Regions from separate parts of the Homo sapiens genome. Here region 1 is linked to region 2. The links are contacts of gene promoters, found by promoter capture Hi-C in human tissues and cell types (Jung and others, 2019). All regions are on one chromosome and are shown on one strand. Each heading gives the region's core, a stretch centred on a gene start or on the middle of the fragment in contact. The rest is flanking DNA. Distances are from core to core; before and after follow the strand shown. Region 1 has its middle 150 kb from the start of LMNTD1. Region 2 holds the start of RASSF8 (Ras association domain family member 8).

Region 1 (6,643 bases), core at 1,727-4,226, 260 kb after region 2:
TTTCTTATTTTTCTTTATCTTCCCAATGTTTAGCATAAGACCTAGCACAAATTAGTCACTCAATAATAATTGTAAAATGAAGTCAAATTAAATAAATTGATGAATAGATAAAGAAGCAGGAATTTTGAAGCAGACCAACACAGAAAAGTAGCTGATCAAAAATAAAAGTAAGTATAAGAAAGAAAATAAAATCATACATGACAGTTAAAATATGTAGTCTGCTAATAAGGCCCTTCCACAAAGAGAAAATTGAGGACCAAAGTATTAATGAGGAGCATTCTTAGAATTATCTTACAGTTTATTTCTGTTGTAATTTGCCTTTTAATGCTGTTCCTCACATTCCTTCATTTCATGGTTCTTAATTCCCTTCAAACTAATCTCAAATCTGTTCACTTTCGGCCATCTCTATTGTTACTATCTTAATCCAAGCAGTCCTTATCTTTCTCAGGGACTTCTGAAGTAATCTCTGGACTGGGATCTGCATCCACTCCAGTCTCCTCCACTTCATTCCAGTGAGCTTCTCTGTCTAGTACGGTGCTAGTGTGAACTAAGAAGTGCTGTAAGTATAAAATACACATTAAATTTCAAACACTTCATATGAAGAAAGAATGTAAGATGTCTTAATAGTAAAATTTTACATGGATTATATAATGATACAATAATACTTTGGGTGTGTGGGGTCAAATAAACTATATTATCAAAATTAATTTGATTTGTTTCATTTTCCTTTTTAAAATGTAACCAATAGAAAATTTAAATTTTCAATGTGTCTTTCAATATATTTCTATGGGACAGCTCTGCTCTAACCAAAAATTAGTGGTCTTTTAAAAACGAAGACTAGCTGATATTACTACCCTGCTTTAAACCTTGCATTTAGGATAGAAACCACCCAAATGGTGGAGGTGGTGCCTGGTAGGAGGTGGTTGGATCATGAGAGTGAATGTTGATGCTATTTTCATTATAGTGAGTGAGTTCTCATGTGATCTGGTCATTTAAAAGTGTGTGGCACCTTCCCCCAATTTCTCTCTTGCTCCTGCTCTGGTCACATTAGTCATGCCTGCTCCCTTTTGCCTTCTACCATGATTGTAAGTTTCCTGAGGCCTCCCCAGAAGCAGAATTACTATGCTTCCTGTACAACCTGTGGAACCACGAGTTAATTAAATCTCTTTTCTTTACAAATTGCCTGGTCTCAGGTATTTCTTTATAACAATGCAAGAATGAACAAATATAGCATTTTTATTAGGCTCATGTGATTTCAGACAAACAAGGAACATTAGCTATCACCTAGACAAATATTCTTGTTTTAGATATGAGGAAACTGATACAGTTTAATTTCAGTAAGAACGGGGGGAAATTCTTTTCTATGATTTGTATATTATGGAGGCAGTCACCTTTATATTGAGACACTGTAACATATGATACACGAGATGAGATGATCCTTCCGCACTCCTACAAAGAATGCACAGGTTTGCCACCTACCATCGTGTTATATGGTATGAATCCACGCTAGGGCACTATGTGTGAGGAAAAGTCGGGGAGGATGAGGCTTTACACCTCAGAAAAGCCTGGGCCATCCTTTGCTAATTCTAAGTAATGCAAGTATTTATTTATTTTTTTTTTCAAATAATTTAAATTATATCAAAGGAGTGAAGCCAATTGCAGATGTCTGTTATTTTTCATCTTTGTTTGTCTGAGAAAAGTCTTTTTTAAGCCCTGATTTCTGAAACATACTTTCACTGTTTATAGAATTCTACATTGACAAGTACTTGAAAGATGTCAATTGTTTTCTTTCTTATCTTTGTTTCTCTGTATGTTGTGTGTCTGTTTTTCTTTGGCTGCTTTTAAGGTTGTTTATTGTTAGTTGTCAGAAACTTGATTATGATGTGACTTGCTGTGGTGTTCTTTATGTTTATTCTTCTTTGGGTTTGTTGAGCGTCTTGGATCTGTGGTTTAATAGTTTTCAGCAAATTTGAAAAATCGTTAGCCATTCTTTCTTCAAACAGTTTTTTCTGTCCCTCTCTCTCTGATATCCTCTAGGACTCCAATTATGCCTATATTAGGCTACTTTATACTGTCTCACTGGTCATTTTCAGTTTAAAAAAATCTTTATGCTTAATTTTGGATAATTTTGTTGCAATGTCTTAACGTTGATATTTTTCTTTAGTAAGGCCTAATCTACTGCTAAAACCATACAATAAAGTTTTTCATCTCAGATAATGCATTTTTTAATCTCCAGAAGTTCTATTTGAATCCTTTTTATATCTGCCACTTCTCTCCTTATCATGATTATGTTCTACTCTACCATTTTCAACATGTGGATCACATGTATACTAGCCATTTAAATATTCTTGTCTGCTGGTTTCATCATACCTGGGTCTGTTTTCTTCATTGATTTTTCTCCTGGTTAATTATCCTTTTTTGCTACTTCTTTGCATATTGGTAATTTTTAATTGAATGCTAGATATGGTGAATGTTACATTGTTGGTGCTGGATTTTGTTGTGGTTCTTCAAATAGCATTTGGTTTTTATCTGCATACAATTAACTTAGTTGGAATCAGTTAGTTCCTTTAGAGACTCAATTTTAAGCTTAGCTAGAGTAAATTCTGAGCAGCCTTTGGTCTTGGGTTAATTTAGCCCCACCGCTAAGGCCTCCTGATAATTCTTCCCAATGCTCCATGCATACGGCAATATTTTTACTTGGCTGGTGGGAACACAAACTATTCCCAGCCCTGTGTGAGCTCTAGACATTGTTATGCCTATTCCTTTCCTTTCTTGTAGCTTGTGCTTTCCCTAGCCTAGGGTAGTATTCTCACATGCATGTACTGATTAGCACACAGCTGAAAGACTCAAAGGGAACCCTCTGCAGATTTCTTTTTCTTTCTCTCTTTTTTTTTTTTAGATGGAGTTTTGCTCTTGTTGCCCAAGCTGGGGTGCAATGGTGCCATCTTGGCTCGCTGCAACCTCTGCCTCCCAGGTTCAAGCTATTCTCTTGCCTCAGCCTCCCCAATAGCTGGGATTACAGGCGCTCACCATGATGCCTGGCTAATTTTTTGCATTTTTAGTAGAAATGGGGTTTCACCATGTTAGCAAGGCTGGTCTCAAACTCCTGACCTCATGTGATCTGCCCACCACCTCGGCCTCTCAAAGTGCTGGGATTACAGGTGTGAGCCACCATGCCCAGCCCCCTCTGCAGATTTCTAGAGCACTCCTTCTCTCTCTCTCTCTGCCTCTCCTTGTGTCTGTCTCTCTCTCTCTCCACTCTGGCACTCTGCCTCATAAATTCTAGTCATCTTAGTCACCTGGAACTCTGATCTCTGTATCGTCAACACAGCAAGACTATCATGCTACGTTAGATCTATCCCTGCTCTGTGTCTGGGACACCCTCCCAAGGCGGTAAGCAAGTGCAGTCCTAGGGCTCATCTGTGTCTCTTCTCACAGGGAACTCAGTCCTTTGGTTTGGTCTGTTGTCCAATGTCTGAAAACTATTTTCTCACACATTTTACATTTCTTTCTTTCTTTTTTTTTTCTAGAGACAATGTTTCACTCTATCACCCAGGCTGAAGTGCAGTAGTGCCATCTCAGCTCACTTCAACCTCCACCTCCTGAGTTCAAGCCCTTCTTGTGCCTCAGCCACTCGAATAGCTGGGATTAGAGATGTGAACCACCACAGCTTGCTAATTTTTGTGTTTTTAGTAGAGACAGGGTTTTGGCATGTTGGCCAGGCTTGTCTTGAACTCCTGGCCTCATGTGATCTGCCTGCCTCGGCCTCCAAAAGTGCTGGGATTATAGGCGTGAGCCACAGTCCAGCCTACATTAATTTCAAGTGGAGAAAATCAGTTCCCTGGTACTTCGTTTTGGCCAAGAACTGATATCTCCAGTTGTTTGTTTTCTATAAGAAGAAACCATGTCTTTTGCACCTCATAGACTCCAAGAATTTTGTAGCTCAAGGGACTCCTAGTCTAACTGATGTCATTATGGGTAGCTGGTAAGTGATACTCATGAAGGAACAAAAGCACACAAAAATATGGCTTTATGCTACACAGGGAGACATTTTACTCCAGCTGTGTAAATAACAACAGTCATACCACAATTATTAAATAAAATTGATCAATGATGACATTAAGGTAGAGTAAGAATGTTCTGGGCATTGCCACCAGTTCAATTGTCTTTGGGAGGTGCTAGTAATTATCTGTATAACAAAATGTTTCTCTTAAAGGGTTTAAAGAAGAACAAAATCACAATTTAGTTCCATTGGCTGCTAGTTTCCATTTCTATCCAATGGGCGTAGGACTCCTTTTCCTTTCCAGGAACCATTTAAGTAAATGGACAACTCCAGTACCTAATTGCATTCTTGCTTCTTTTTCCCTTTACAGAGGTGCTGGTGGTATTTCACTGATGCTTATCTGCCTGCTATCATAAAAGTAACTTCAGTTTGGTTTAAAATGCACCTGAATCTAAAATCTCTTTACTGCTAGTCCTCCTTGTTCATTAACCTGCTTCTTACCAGATGGTATTCTCTTTAACACCAACATTTTTGAGAGTTTCGTAGTAGTCTGCTAAAGTGAAAACTTGAAACCTGAGGGTGTTGTCAAATGCTAGTACTAAAAGGGGACTTAAACTTGGGAGGAGCCTACTCTTTCCTTTTTAACACAGAAAGACCATGATGGAAAATGGGCTTCTATTGCAATCCCATAAATATCTTAGTAGTAGTGTATGTTTTCCATTACTAAAAATATATATACACAATGGTTTAAGATGATTGCAAAGAATTCCAGCAGGTTTTCTAATTCTTTCCCAATCCCTGCCTTCTCCTTTCCAATACGCACATGTTTTAGAGCAAGTTATTGTCCTGCTATCATTTTTTAAAAAAGAAATGAGGAAATTATACCTACATAGTTTTTCCTGTTTTTCAACCCCAACCCCTTTTAAAATTTTTTTTCAATTACTCAATTGATGGACTTTGGGGGAAATGCAATTAAATTGTATATTAAGCCATTGTTATATTTAATAAGAACAGGTAGTTTAAACACAAACATTTCAAACAGTTAATATCTACCAACAATGTCTGGATTCATGTGTTTTATTTAGAATGAGAGTCTCTTGAACATTATGTACAGCTAATCTTGTTCAGCACCAGTGACTCACCTCTAATCAGACAAACAACATCTCTTTTTAGACCAAAATATAATGTTGGTAAAAGAAGTCTTGTCAGGTCCATGATTGTCTGTACTACATAGCGTCAAATTTAGAGATTATGCTGTTAATACAGAGTACCATCTGGGGTGCCTGAAAGATGACCATTGTATCTGCTAACACATAGCTATGATGCATATTTTAGTTTTCAGAGTTTCTGTGTATTATGAACACATATTTGTAGTCTGCTTATGTGCATGAATATGTTATAAATCAGAACTGCAAGTATGTATATAACCCTGATATTTTCAAAACCCCTGCATGGGGTTAAGTTTTAGCATGGGAGATTGCCCCTTTGTCACAACCTAAAATGCTGTCAGGGCTTGAGGCATGGAAATAAAATTCCTGTCCCTGGAAAAGGATAAAAGAATGAAGTGACCCCCATCTGTGGATCTGAAGCAGTGAGGAAAACTAAAATTTACTTGCATTATATCTTCTTCAAGTTGGGTATTATTTATAAGTAGCCCATCTTTTTAACAGGAAATTTCAAGACAACTATTCTATTATGTCGTTTCTTTGCCATTTTTTTCCCCTTTCGATATAGTTGTGGTTTTGGCTTTTCCATGTAGTTTCTTAACTGAATTGTCAGCAAGATCTAGTCTCAATTACCTCACACCTAAGCACTGTTGTAACTCTATTTCTCTTTATCCATCTCATCACAAAAACCTGTAACAGTGACCAAAGTCTGTTTTCATCATTCATCATTCTATCAGCAGTCTTTTGATGACCTAAGGGTCTAACTGTACTACACTGATGTAGATCCTAAGCTGTTGGTTCCACTGTGCAATCTGCATCAACATATTCCAGGAGGCAGATACAACCTCAAGTTTAAATGGAGCCAGGACAAAGCTGTACATTATGCTCTCTCCTTTTAAATATACAGCCAAACAACGTGGTACAATCACTGTATAAATTATGTGCATACGTACCACCAAATTAAAAAAAAAAGGTGTTCTGATTATTTTAAGAGTCAGAAAATTACAATATTTGGGTTTAAAAATAATATATAAATATATATATACTTTTTTAGATGAGGTCTCACTCTGTCACCCAGGCTGGAGTGCAGTGGCGCAATCTCTGCTCACTGCAGCCTCAACCTCCTGGGCTCAAGTGATCTTTCCACCTCAGCCTCTTGAGTAGCTGGGACTATAGGTGGGAGCTATGATGCCTGGCTAATTTCTGCATTGTTTTTAGAGACAGAGGTTTCTCCATGTTGCCCAGGCGGGGCTCGAACACCTGGTCTCAAGCCATCCACCTGCCTTGGCCTCCCAAACTGCTGGGATTACAGGCGTGAGCCACCGTGCCCGGCCAGTGTTTGTTACCCTGGGTCCTCCTAGATGTAGATGCCAAGACAGCTTAAATGGTTAAATGATATATAATTCAGGAAATGCCTGCAACAGAACAAAGGAAGGGACCCAGAGAAGACTGAGCCTTCTGGCCACAATGTAAG
Region 2 (6,232 bases), core at 3,171-5,670:
TCTGGCACCACCAGCCGACAGCAGCTGACTAACGTGTTATCATGTGACGCTCTGTAAAATAGTAAGGCACAGTAAGATTTTTTTTCCTTTCAGTAAGCTTATGCTGATAAAAAAATAATTATTTTAATGATGTATTTAGAAAAAGGATTATGTACAACAGAAAGTCACAAGGGTAACACTAATTAAAAGGTGTCTCAATTTATTACTACGAATATTTCACAGAACCTACATGCATTTTTACCTGATATTTGCAAAGGCCGTTTCATATTATACATATAACCAGCAAAGAAGGAATATAGAAAAGTGTGGGTCTGGCTTTTCTATCATGAAAAGCAAATTTAACAGTGATAAAGAAGGCAATCAAGATACAAATACAGAAGCCAGGCATGGTGGCACACACCTGTAGTCCCAGCTACTCAGGAGGCTGAGGCAGGAGGATCACTTGAGGCCAGGAGTTTAAGACCAACTGGGCAACATAGTAAGACTCCATTTCAAAAAAAAAAGATAAAGATACAAACTGATATTACGATCTTACTCATTATATCAACATATTTATTGAGCACCTACTACATATACTGGGCACTGGTGATTAAACCAGGTATTATCAACTTCATATTAACCTAAAGGGCAAGAAAAGGACCCTAAGTGATTAAATAATATATAAATTGTGGTAAATATTCAGAAGCAAAAGTGATTACGCTATGAGGGAGAAAATAAAGGACATTTAATTCGCATGACGATAAGGGTGGGCTTGTCAGAGAAGACCTTTATGAGAAAGGACATTTGAGCTAGCACCCAAGGATGATAAGTTACTCAAGGAGATGATCCTAAAATAGGGAGACCAACAGCATGAGCCACAGGCCTGAGGCTAGTCTGCTGGAGAACTGGCCAAGATGACAGCAAGAGATGCAAGTGGATGTAGAGATCAAATCATGCAGGATCCTGAAGTAATGTCAAGGATTTGGTATCTTATCCCAAAAATAAATAAATGTGTTTCCTGAGAGCCCTGACAACTTTAAGACGGCAAATACTTTTTCTTTTTTTTTTCAGGCTGCTGGTAGTAAAACAGACTGCAAGGGGTGCAGAGTGTGTGCAGGAGGCACCGCACCAAGGAAAAAGATAATACAGTACAGTGGCTTGCATTAGGATGGCAGAATAGTGGGGACTGAAAATCAGACCGGTTTGAAAGAGATTTTGCAATAAAAATGGACAGCAGGACTTTATGATGGACTGGTTTGCTAGGGCTGATAGAAGAAAAGAGAGAGTGGAGTGAGCTACTCCTTGGATGGATGAGATGAAAAATGGAGGGGGAACAGTTTGAAAGTTTGAGTGACCAAGAGCTCAATTCTGAAGGAGTTTGAGATGTTGTCATTTATTGGCTGAAATGTGCCAGGCACATCTAATATATATTAGATGTTCTACTCACCATAGCATCCCTTTAAGTAGTGGTATCCCCATTTTCCAGAAATGCAACTGTAGATCACAGAGGCTGAAGTGGCATGGCCGAGCTCACTCACCTCGGGAGTGACAAAGTCACACGTGCAACCCAAGTCTGGCTGGCAGTGGGGTAAACATTCTTTCCACTATACAGAATACTTGGAAACTCTCTCTACACTTTGAATTTTTAAGTCTATTTAGGGTTAGAGCAAGTTAGCATCAAAGAAGAGTAAATAAACGTTATATTATTTTGTAATCCAAATCTTTAATTTATGATGCATGTTTTTCTATCCAACTCCCATTCCCACTCCACTTTTACTTGCAAAGAGTTTTGTAATGTTTTGAACACTAGCAAGATATCTAAGATCTTAATGTTTTATAATAAAGGAGCAAAGCCATTATGCCAGGAATTAACCATAAGAAAAAGACAACAATATCCCACGGCAAACAATATTTTTACTTCCAAGTCATTATATACATCAACATAAAACAGATCAATTAATGAGTCAGAAACCCTGAAGAACTAATCATTTCTCAAAACACAAGGCAGTCAGGTCAAAAACTGACGTAAGTCACCACGTATAGAAGCCTACAAGAGCCAAACACTGAAGATTCAGGTTAAAAGGTTGCAACCTTAAAAAAATAAATAAAAGGCAAAACAAATTATACAACCATGTCGAATTTTAAATCTGTAATTACCAAATATCTGAACCAAATGCCAAATTCAGGAAACATGCATCCTATAAACAACTTAAACACTCTCTGTTCTTTGTAACTGTTTTTTCCAGAAGCACACTGACACTTCTGCAAAGTGAAGTGCCTTTCCTGCCTGCACAGCCCCATGATTTGCTCCCTCTCAGGGCCCTCTAATGCACCCCTAAGCTACTAAAGCCCAGACATAAGATTTGATCAATAAACCTAGAAAGAACTCAGTGCATTACTGCCAATTGTGTCCATCACAGAAAGTACCACCTGGAGACTCTTGAGGAAAAAAATGAGGAAGGGGGAGATTTTTGAAAGGTTTTATCATCTGTATTACAAATTATATTTTGTTGTACTTGATCCTTGAATAGAATAATCATCAAACTATGTTCAGTCTTCTTCAAGTGGGGGATGGTCATGTGTAATTTTATGGTTTGGGGAGTGTGCCTCATAGAGATAAATAAAATTAAAAGTACCATTAGTATGCCCGCTAAAAGATAAAACTCACACAAACCACTTCCCCAAATGATAGTGCTGTCTCCTGCGTCCTGATTTTTGCGTCCACCCTGCACCTCTCCCTGCAGAAAGCTGGCTGGCATTCACTACCGCCTCACTCTGGCAAAGGACAGGATGTCGAAAACCCATTAAGAAAGCTTCTCATTTTCTGTTCCTTCATAACATGATGGCAACTCCTGGCAACTCCAAGATGAAAGGCAAAAAAGAAAATAAAAACTACCTGGGGCCCCCTACCAGAATGAGTGGTTAATCTAATGGAGAGAAAAGCAGAGATTTATACATATTTTAAAATGCTTCCTGGGGACAAAGCAGATCTAATGAATTGCTGAGCCACAATCTACTGGAAAATCCATAAATGTTCGTCCCTGCTGTCACAGGGCTAGAGGATTTTTTTTTTTAATGAAATGCTTTAATGCTAACCTGACAGGGCTAACCTGACAGGTTTAAGTCAGCTATGAGACGTGATTTGCATTCATTTCGCTTCTAAATCCCTAAAGATCAGCAACAATATTGACCCGCAATTATATATCCTACGTTGCACTGTTCAAGATGCCATTTGAGGCTGGGAAAGTAGTGGTTTAGCAACACCAGGCGGCTCTATGATGCTAAAATAACAACGCAACACTGGATTCCGAACCCAAGTACTCATCTTTTAAAACCCAGTGCCGCACCAGGACCCACATTCAAAGCTCGCGTCCCTTCAAGTTGAATCTTCCGGCTTTGTGCGATTTACCCTCTCAAACTTTCTAGTTTGCAAGTCAGAATTACTTTGAACGTCCCCTCTTCTGGACTCCCCTCCCCAAAGGGACTGGCGGCAAAGGAGAATAGAATGCAGATGGTTAATAGTTCAAATGAAATTTAAAAACCTATAAACCAATATTTTTTTAGAGGAGAAAAGCGTTCACCAAACCGCCACCCGGCAAGCGAGCATCCGATTTCCATCCGGAGGAAAAAATATTTTAAAAACCAGACATAAAATTCCCTTTGCAAGAAAAGTGGCCTCTAAACTCCCTTGCCAAGGACACTGGGAGGAAGCAGAAAAGCAAAGACCAAGCTCGTACTTTTCAGTCCGCGGCTTGTGTGCCGCGAGGAGAGGCGCAAAGGGTGACACACCAGGAAAGGTGAACGCAGAGGGAGCGGGAGCCCGCGGCGGGGCAGGGTGGGGGCGGAACGGACGAGGTACCCAAGGTGCGGAGAGAGGGGCAACCGGGCGGAGGGCAGCTCCGAGGCTGCAGGCGGGACGGGCGGGGTCCCCGGCGCAGCCCGGATCGCCGCCGCTAAGTAAAGTTAATACTTACTCAGTTTCGCAACTGCGCCGCCCCCGCAGGCCGCCCAGAGGGGCCGGCCGGGGCGCTGGGGACGCGGCGGCACCCGGAGCTCCGCGGCCGCCCAGCGCCCGTCCCCGCGCCGCACTCCCCGGCACTCCCCGGCGCTCCCCGCGCCGCGCGCCCCGCACCGGCTGGAGGCCCCGGCCCCCCGGCGTTCCCTCTCCGCGCACCTCCCGGCCCGCGCTAGGTGAGTGTGGACGCCACTGGCGGGGGTGCCGCGGTGCGCGAGCGCTCGGCCAGCGGCAGAGACGCCGCGGGAGCCGCCCCCAGCGCCAACGCCGCCGCGGGCGGGAAGGGCGAGGCTCGGCGAGGCTGGGCGAGGAGCTGGGCGGCAGACGCTGAGCGGGGCGCGGCGCGGGGCGCCGGACGAGCGCGGGCGTAGGAGGAGCGCGGGCGTAGGAGTCGGCGACCCGCTCGCTCCCGCGGCCGGTGCCTCTGGGCTGGGGGCCGGGCTGGGGGCCGGGCCGGGCCGGGCCGGGCCGGGCGGCCAGGCGGCTCCGCCCCTTCGCCGGGCAGCGGCTGAGCGCGCGAGAGGAGCGGCGCGGGGGCGCCCCCCTCGGCCGGGCGCTCGGGTTTCAGCCGCCGCTCCTCCGCGCCCCGCCCGCGCCTGGCCCGCTCGCCGGCGCCGGGAGAGACCTCGTAACGGAACTGGGACGCCAGCGCTGCATTGTGGGAGCTTTTAAAGCGGCGGGGAGCTCGGCGCGACCCTCGGGCCCACCGGGCCACGCTCGCCCGGCCCGCGACGCCCCCCCGCTGTCGCCTGGCCCGCGACGCACCGAGGCCTGAGGACCCGAAAGCCGGGCGCGGGGAGATGACCGGTGGCTCGTGACGGTCCCACGGGCAAAATCTTCCATCGCCCGGGGCTGAGACTTGTCAAACTGCCCTCTACGGTCACCCGGAAAGTAGGAGGCTTTTTCTGCAGAGGGGAAAAAAATCAAAAAGAGCCGTTCCATCCCCCCTCCAAGGACTGGGTTTGAATTGCTTTTCATCTGCAGTGGCTGTGATTCAGCGTCCCTCTTAGCAGCAGGCAATGACAGAGGCAGGAGAGGGGAAAAAAAAAAAGAAAGAAAGAAAAAACACAGCAAATGAATCAAACGGACGTGAGTAACAAAAGTTTAGAAAGAGCTGGGCTCGTATTCAGAAAAAACGCCTCATCCCCCCGCCCCGCTGCACTCCCAACCCCTTTAAAAATAGCAGATAATCAAGAAAGGAAACGGGTGCTTTCATATGGAAATACAGATGTGTATGTTGTTTTCAATATTCTACTGTTTTTTTGTGTGTGGCATGCAATTACTCAGGCACTGGGCAAAATTCAGCCTTTGGATTTTGTGGTCACACATACCCCAACTCCGCAACAGCTATTAATTTGCAGGGCGATGGGGTGCGGATAGTGGATGAGATACAAGAAAGCATTCCAATTAAAATGCCCCCCCCCACCCCGCCTTTTAATTTTCCAGACACTTGCTTTTATTTTTCTTTTTTTAAACATCATCAAAACAAGAATATTAAACTTGAAGCAGAATTTGTTACAGCGTATCTGACTCAGGACCTGATTTAAGGTTTGGGGTTTTTTGGCCCTTTGTTTCTTCCTCTTGTTTTTTGACCTTTAGTTACTCCACACCTCATTAGTTCCTTGACCTGCAGGTGGACTGAGAAGAGAGCCATGGTAAGACTCAAATTTGTCAAATCAACATTTGGAGAGGAGAAAGTTCACTGTGATTCAAATGCAAAACCAAAGGGAATATGATTTAAAAGTCAACCTGGAGGGCATGGATCCTCCCTTAACCCTACTTGACTCTTTTCAAAGGAGTTGCCTAGCCTTAAGGTGAATGTTTCCTAACCTCTCATTCCCTTCTCAGCCTTTCACTCCACTGAACAACATCAGCCATTGCTTAATTGCCAAATCTAATGGAAAAATTTAATTCCCATCTTGTGCCCTTTGTGGCATTTGCCAATGTTGACCTCTCCTTCTTAGAACTTTCTGCCTTTTGGCCGGGCGCGGTGGCTCATGCCTATAACCCCAGCACTTTGGGAGGCCAAGGCTGGCAGATTGCCTGAGGTTGGGAGTTCGAGACCAGCCTGACCAACATGGAGAAACCCCGTCTCTACTAAAAATACAAAATTAGCCGGGCATGGTGGCACATGCCTGCAATCCCAGCAACTGGGAGGCTGAGGCAGGAGAATCGCTTGAACCTGGGAGGCAGAGGTTGCAGTGAGCCGAGATCACGCCATTGCACCCCAGCCTGGGC

Evidence for each region. Contacts are between HindIII fragments. The study calls those that stand out against the background at their distance.
Region 1: a contact is called between a fragment that was not itself captured here and the fragment with the promoter of RASSF8 in region 2, in 1 of the 25 tissues and cell types used here (thymus).

The regions. Positions count from the first base shown.
Region 1 is chr12:25,698,164-25,704,806 of GRCh38, reverse strand. No RefSeq gene overlaps it. Among named protein-coding and RNA genes, the nearest start is that of LMNTD1, 150 kb to the right of the region's middle. The HindIII fragment of the contact is 4,202 bases long and covers 876-5,077 here.
Region 2 is chr12:25,956,870-25,963,101 of GRCh38, reverse strand. RASSF8 (Ras association domain family member 8) reads right to left here and starts at 4,420. Exons shown (of 6, transcript NM_001394098.1): 1 at 3,954-4,420. RASSF8-AS1 (RASSF8 antisense RNA 1) reads left to right here and starts at 3,660. Exons shown (of 4, transcript NR_038228.1): 1 at 3,660-3,776. RefSeq lists silencers at 3,809-3,858, 3,999-4,048, 4,119-4,218, 4,319-4,808. The HindIII fragment of the contact is 6,427 bases long and covers 1,446-6,232 here.